Linked DNA regions of Homo sapiens: region 1 is linked to region 2. The links are contacts of gene promoters, found by promoter capture Hi-C in blood cells and fetal thymus (Javierre and others, 2016). All regions are on one chromosome and are shown on one strand. Each heading gives the region's core, a stretch centred on a gene start or on the middle of the fragment in contact. The rest is flanking DNA. Distances are from core to core; before and after follow the strand shown.

What was found. Contacts are between HindIII fragments. The CHiCAGO score rates a contact against its expected background, and 5 or more counts as called.
Region 1: a contact is called between a fragment that was not itself captured here and the fragment with the promoter of NDC1 in region 2, in 3 of 17 cell types (megakaryocytes, naive CD4 T cells and activated CD4 T cells). The highest score is 5.7, in megakaryocytes.

The regions. Positions count from the first base shown.
Region 1 is chr1:53,969,511-53,972,993 of GRCh38, forward strand. No RefSeq gene overlaps it. Among named protein-coding and RNA genes, the nearest start is that of LRRC42, 25 kb to the left of the region's middle. The HindIII fragment of the contact is 1,068 bases long and covers 1,637-2,704 here.
Region 2 is chr1:53,836,046-53,839,647 of GRCh38, forward strand. NDC1 (NDC1 transmembrane nucleoporin) reads right to left here and starts at 2,251. Exons shown (of 18, transcript NM_018087.5): 1 at 2,160-2,251. The coding sequence starts at 2,216. RefSeq lists a silencer at 2,005-2,134 and an enhancer at 2,245-2,724. The HindIII fragment of the contact is 19,531 bases long and covers 1-3,602 here.

The sequences.
Region 1 (3,483 bases), core at 921-3,420, 130 kb after region 2:
GTGTGATCATAGCTCACTGCAGCCTCGACCTTCCAGGCTCAGGTGGTCCTCCCACCTCAGCCTCCCAAGTAGCTGGGACTACAGGCACATGCCATTGTCACACCTGGCTGATTTTTGTATCTTTTGTAGGGATAGGGTCTCACCATGTTGCCCAGGTTGGTCTCCTGGGTTCAAGAGATCTGCCCACCTCAGCTCCCAAAGTGCTAGTATTACAGGCGTGAGCCACTGCACCTGGCCTCCAAGAGGTTTTTAATTTACTTATTTACTTTGTCCAGATCCATTAGAGAAGTCACTGTCTATGGCAGCTATTGCTTTGTGAAATGTATTTAATAATAAGACCTGAAAGTTGAAATTACTCCAGATCCATATGCTGCAGAATAGGTGTTATGGTAGCAGGCATGAAAACAACATTCATCTTGTAAGTTTTTGGGTGATCAGGTATATTGTCTATGAGCAGAAATATTTTGAAAGTGCCTCTAATTTGTGGACTACACATTGAGTAGCAAAGCTCTAGACCTTTACTGTCCAATATGTAGCTCCTAGCTACATGTAGCTATTAAATACTCGAAATGTGGCTAGTCCAAATTGAGATGTGCTATAAAATACACACTGGATATCAGATATCAAAGACTTAGTATCTAAAAGTTTGAATGAAAAATGTCTCAGCCAGGCGTGGTGGCTCGCGCCTGTAATCCCAGCACTTTGGGAGGCCAAGGCGGGCGGATCATGAGGTCAGGAGATCGAGACTATCCTGGCTAATATGGTGAAACCCCGTCTCTACTGAAAATACAAAAAATTAGCCGGGTGTGGTGGCATGCACCTGTAATTCCAGCTACTTGGGAGGCTGAGGCAGGAGAATCGCTTGAACCCGGAGGGCAGAGGTCATAGTGAGCTGAGATTGTGCCACTGCACTCCAGCCTGGTGACACAGCAAGACTCTGTCTCAAAAAAAAAAAAGTCTCCATTTTGAAATACTGGTTACATGTTAAAATGGTAATTTAAAATAATTTCACCTGTTTTTATTTTTCTAATACGGCTACTAGAAAGTTTAAAATCACATTCATGGCTTGCATTTGTGATTGCATTATATTTTTACTGGACAGGACTGCTCTAGACCGTATTCATCTTTAAAAGGTGAGCTAAAAGCAAGAGTTACTGGCAAGTAAAAGGAAGGGAGAAAATACCTCAAGAAATTGACAACATTAGTTTGACATTTGTAAGTGCTCTGGAGTTTAATGAGGATTTTATTTATTATTTATTCATTATTGTTTTTTAACTTTTAGGTTCAAGGGTACTTACGGAGATTTGTCATATAGGTAACTTGCGTCTCATGGGGGACTGGTGTATAGATTACCTCGTCACCCAGGTAATAAGCGTAGTTAGTACCCAATAGGTAGTTTTTCGATCCTCTCCCTCCACCCTCAACAGGCCCCAGTGTCTGTGGTTCCTTTCTTTGTATCCATGTGTACTCAGTGTTTAGCTCCCACTTACAAGTGAGAACATGCAGTATGTGGTTTTCTGTTTAATCAGGATTTTAATAAAGGTAGATCTTAGATAAAATATGTGTTAATTGCTACTCTGAGCTAGGCAAGGTACTACCTCTTTAAAGGTGGGCTGTTACCCAGGATCATATCAAAAGCTTGATTTCTGAAATTTATAAAATGAAAAAGCGAATACAGTGCTGATTGGTTTTCTCTGTAACAAAGTAGAGTTTTAAAATATCATTTGAGGCCGGGCACGGTGCCTCACGCCTGTAATCCCAGCACTTTCGTAGGCGAAGGCGGGCGGATCACTTGAGGTCAGGAGTTCAAGACCAGCCTGGCCAACATGGTGAAACCCCGTCTCTACTAAAAATACAAAAATTAGCCAGGCATGGTGGTGTGTGCCTATAATCCCAGCTGCTCAGGAGGCTGAGGCAGGAGAATTGCTTGAACCCGGGAGGCGGAGGTTGCAGTGAGCCGAAATTGCGCCACTGCATTCCAGCCTGGGCGGCAGAGCGAGACTCCATCTTTAAAAAAAAAAAAAAAATCATTTGAGTGGACAGTAGCACTCTGTCAAATTCCAAATGCCAATCAACAGCTGGCTCTACTTGTCAAAGTTGGCATATTATTGTTAGTCAAACCAGAGTCCAATTTGATCACCCCCTCATGCACACAATCCCACCACCACCACCGGACTCCACTGTTGCCTGTGGGGCAATAATGCCATGTTAACAGGGAGCATCTGGAATTACTCTTCAAACATCCGCCCATTTTGATCACTGTGGAAGGCAAATCTTCCTTCCACATTTACCCCTTCAGAGCAACTTGTGCTCACTTCTCTCATCAACACAGTGTACTTTTAAAGCTAAGATTTCATTTTCTTTAATCCTTTTTTTCAAGAATCACATTTTTCTCTGCTGACGATTCCTTTAAACAAATATTTCTTGTTTTGGTCTGAGGAATTCATTCTTTGAAATGGAGTTATAGAAGTCTAGGCTTTGTTTTGATGACTGAGGTGAAGGCCAAGAATTTATGACCAGCATACAATAGATAGGGTAATTTGTGTGTTTGTGTAACTTACATGTGAGGATAGGCTGTTTTTTAAAATTAGAATTTGTTTCTGCCTTCTTAGAATTTACTTACTGACTCGTTATGAACTTCGCAAAGTGACTCAATTCTGAAAATCCTCATACCTCTTTAAAACTCTGCTGCCTACCTACATAAAGCTTACAAGAATGAATAAATCAGTGCTTCTCAAAAAACATGTTCTGTGAACCCCTGCCCCAGAGTTTTCTGTGGTATTTGTTAAAATGAAGATTCTTAGACCCCACCCATGTTTATTGAATCAGAATCTCATATTTATTATTTATTTATTTGATATGGAGTCTTGCTCTGTTGCCAGGTTGGAGTGCAGTGGTGCAATCTCAGCTCACTAGTTGAACCCGCCTGCTGGGTTCAAGTGATTCTCCTGCCTCTGCCTCCTGAAGAGCTGGGATTACAGGTGCCCGCCACCATGCCCAGCTAATTTTTGTATTTTTAACGGGGTTTCACCATGTTGGGCGGGCTGGTCTCAAACTCCTGACCTCAGGTGATCCTCCCACCTCAGCCTCCCAATGTGCTGGGATTACAGGTGTGAGCCACCGCGCCCGGCCTGAACCAGAATCTTTTAGTTTATGAGAATTACTAAAGAATCTGATATCAGGCCATTTTTTTTTTCCATGTATTCATTTTAAAAACCTGAGCCATTCATCAGTTTATTTGAACAGGTATCTGTTGAACACTTAACATGTACCAGGTGCTAGGGACTCAGCAATAAACAAGACAAAATACAGTATTTTCCTTTAAAGAGCACAGGGTGAGCAGACACAAAGTTAAGTGAACAGAACAGTCAATCAAGAAGCTAAGTTCACATAGCGATAAGTAAAGAAAATGGAACAGGGTAATGGGATATTGGGAGTTATGGAAAGTTAATTTAGATTTTTAATTAACTTAGGGGGTTACAG
Region 2 (3,602 bases), core at 1,001-3,500:
TTTGAATTGCCCGTATCTATCATATAGGAGGAAAATATTTACTGCTGAATAATACAAGAAGATATAGAGGGGTTTTAAGCATGAAAGTGACAATCAAATTCATGTTGCTCAAGGTAAAACATGTCTGTTTACTGAAAGCTGGCTTTAAGGAAGATGGAGGAGTTGGGACACGAACCAAACCAGAGACAATGCAGTTAGGAGGCAGTCCACCAAAAAGCTGAGGCCGGGCGTGGTGGCTCACATCTGTATCCCAGCACTTTGGGAGGCCAGGGTGGGCGGATCACTTGAGGCCAGGAGTTTGAGACCAGCCTGGCCAACATGGTAAAACCCTGTCTCTATAAAAAATTTTTTAAAAATTAGCCAGGCATCATTCCAGCCCGGGCAACAGAGCAAGACTCTGTCTAACAAAAAAAAAAAAAAAAAAGAATAAAGTTGAACTCCTATCCCACATTCTTTTTGATGTTGTGATTTTGAGACAGCTCGCTCTGTCCCCCAGGCTAGATGCAACAGTGCCATCTCAGCTCACTGCAACCTCCTCCTCCCGGGTTCAAGTGATTCTCCTGCCTCAGCCACCTGAGTAGCTGGGGTTACAGGTGCCCGCCACCACACCTGACTAATTTTTTTTTCAGTAGAGATGGGGTCTCGAACTCCTGACCCCAAGTGATCCTCCCACCTCAGCCTCCCAAAGTGTTAAGATTACAGGCGTGAGCCACAGCGCCCAGCCTCCTATCCCACATTCTATACAAAAATTAACTCAAAATGGATTAAAGACCTACATGTAAGAGCTAAAACTATAAAACTCTTGGAAGAAAACATAGGAGTAAACCTTCATGATCTTGGATTTGGCAATGGTTTCTTAGATATGACACCAAAAGCATAAGCAACAAAAGAAAAATATAGATAAATTGGACATCAGCAATATTTAAAACTTTTTTGCTTCAGAAGACACTGTCAGCCAAGTGCGGTGGCTCACAAGTGCCAAAGGTGGCAACAACCCAAATACCCACATACTGATGAATGGATAAACAAAATATGTGGTATGTCCATACAGTGGATTATTCAGCCACAAAAAGGAATGAAGTACTCATGCATGCTAAACATACACCAGGCACGATGGCATGCACCTGATGTCCCAAATAGTTAGGCGGCTGAGGCAGGAGGACTAGTTGAGCCCAGGAGCTCAAGACCAGGCTGGAGAAGATATCGTATCTCTATTATAAAAATAATTTTTAAAAAAATTTTAGAGGCCAGGCACGGTGGCTCACGCCTGTAATCTCAGCACTTTGGGAGACCGAGGCGGATGACTCACTTGAGGTCAGGAGTTCAAGACCGGCCTGACCAACATGGTGAAACCCCATCTCTACTAAAAATACAAAAATTAGCTGGGCGTAGTGGTGCGTATCTATAATCCCCGCTCCTCGGGAAGCTGAGGCAGAACTCCTTGAACCCTGGAGGCGGGGGTTGCAGTGAGCCGACAACGCGCCATTGCACTGCAGCCTGGGCAACAGGGAGCGAGCCTCCGGCTCAAAAAAAAAAAAAGATAAGACTTACGGACCCAAAAGTTTTTAGTTTGGAATACAGGGGAGATGGCAGTGCACTGGGATAGAAGCACTTTTCCAAAAGGGATCTTTCTCCTCTTTCTCTTTGCACTCCAGAGAAGCGATGTAGTACTGTTAATTCCGTAACTTTAAGGAGGAAGTACTATTCCACTCAGCTCAGTCCCATTCTACCTTACAAAGAACACCTGCCCTGCTTACTGGACCCTAACCCCAGCCTCTACTAATGCCACATTTCTTTCCAATTCCGTGCATTCCTTCCCACTTCTTAACGAAACAAATTAAGTTATTTATTTTGCACCTACTGGATACGGTACCCTTGCGTAAAACTCCGCCTCACTCCCTATTCCAATTTCCATTCAGTCCATCCGTCCCACTCTGACCAGCTTCCTTCCACTCAGGACCCCTCTCCTACCCCGTAACCAACTTCCACTCAGGACTTCCCACAACCCTGCAATCAGTCCCCCAAGTGGTGCCTTCCCCACGCGTTCTCTCCACGCTGCCCCGGGACCGGCCCTCCCCCGCCCAGCGCGCACGCGCGATCAGAGCTTGCCCGCCCGGCCCGACCCTGGCAGTGCGTGCCACAGTGCACGCCGCACTCACGCGCCACAGTATGTCCCGCGACCTGCCGGCGCAGGGCCGGCTCACGGCCGTGGCCATGGAGATGGCGGCCCCTAGTCTAGGGCGTACAGGAGACCGTGCGCCCGCCCGCCACCGCAGTTCAAAGGCAGGAAGGCCCCAGGAGGACCCTGCTGGGTCTGCCTCAAACGCTGCCTGAGCGAAGCCCGGCCCAGGCTCCAACCCATCCCTGCGAGGCTTCGTCTGGACAAGCTCAACAGGCCAGGACTGCCGCGCAGACACGTCCCGCAAACGCGGCTGTAACTCCAGGAACCGCCCTCTGGCGACCAAACGGTCCCTTCGAAGCAGGGTCCAGCGGGGCGCCAGAAGCAGGTGGCGGCGCTGCATGCTGGGAACTGTAGTCTCGACGGCCCCCTGAGAGGAAGTAGGAGGAATGTTGCATTCTGGGACTCGGAGTTCCAAAGTACAGAATGCTGGGAGTCAAGGTCTTCCTGGAGGTGCCTTGAGGCATGCTGGGAATAGTAGTCTTTTATAAAGCCGATAACAGCCACAGTATTGATTGACTGGAATTCTTCAGTTAGAGCTAGCAAAATGATCTGCCCTCATTTCTCCCTATTACTTTATAAGTCACCTAAAAGTGAAACCAAAGGATGTGGTGGTCTTCTCCACAATAGGTACGCAGTAATTTTACTGAAATAAAAAAAAAATTCTCTAGAGATGCCTTTGGTTTCATAAAATCTGGTTTCTACTTCCAGATCTGCCACTTGCTAAATTGAATATTTTTATCTTCTCTGAGCCTCCATTTCTTCAACAGTAAGATAAGGATGAAAATAAAAATATCCTGGTGATGTTGTGAGGATGTAAATAATATGCTATACAAATGTTATCATTAATATACTGCCAGTAAGAAAAAAGGTGTTTCACCAACCCAAGTTTCACCTAATGAAGTCTTCTCAGTGCTTTAGACCTCAGTGAGATCTCTGGATGCATATCGCTAACGCCTTTTTATGCTCAATCACATGCCACAGTCAACATGCAATACTCAAGACAGAAATAGATTCAGTGATTTACTGACTAAGGAAATGCATAGGCTGGTGAGAGGAATTGAGATCACACCTACTGCTCTGCAACGTTTGCTAACAATGGCTTCCTGAATGCTTTAAGATTATATCCTATTCACTTCCAAAATCATGTTACTATCAATCATGTCTAAAGCACTGTAGGACAAACTGGGAATACAACTGATAGATCAAGTCTCTGCCGTGAAGAGATCTATCCGGTGGTGGAGAAAACTTGTAAAGAATTAGTCCAGGCCAGGCACAGTGGCTCACACCTGTAATCCCAGCACTTTGGGAGGCCAAGGCAGGAGGATCACAAGCCAGGAGTTTGAGACCAGCCTGGGCAACATAGTGAGACCTCATCTCCACAAAAACAACAACAACAACAACAACAAACTTTTTTTTAAAT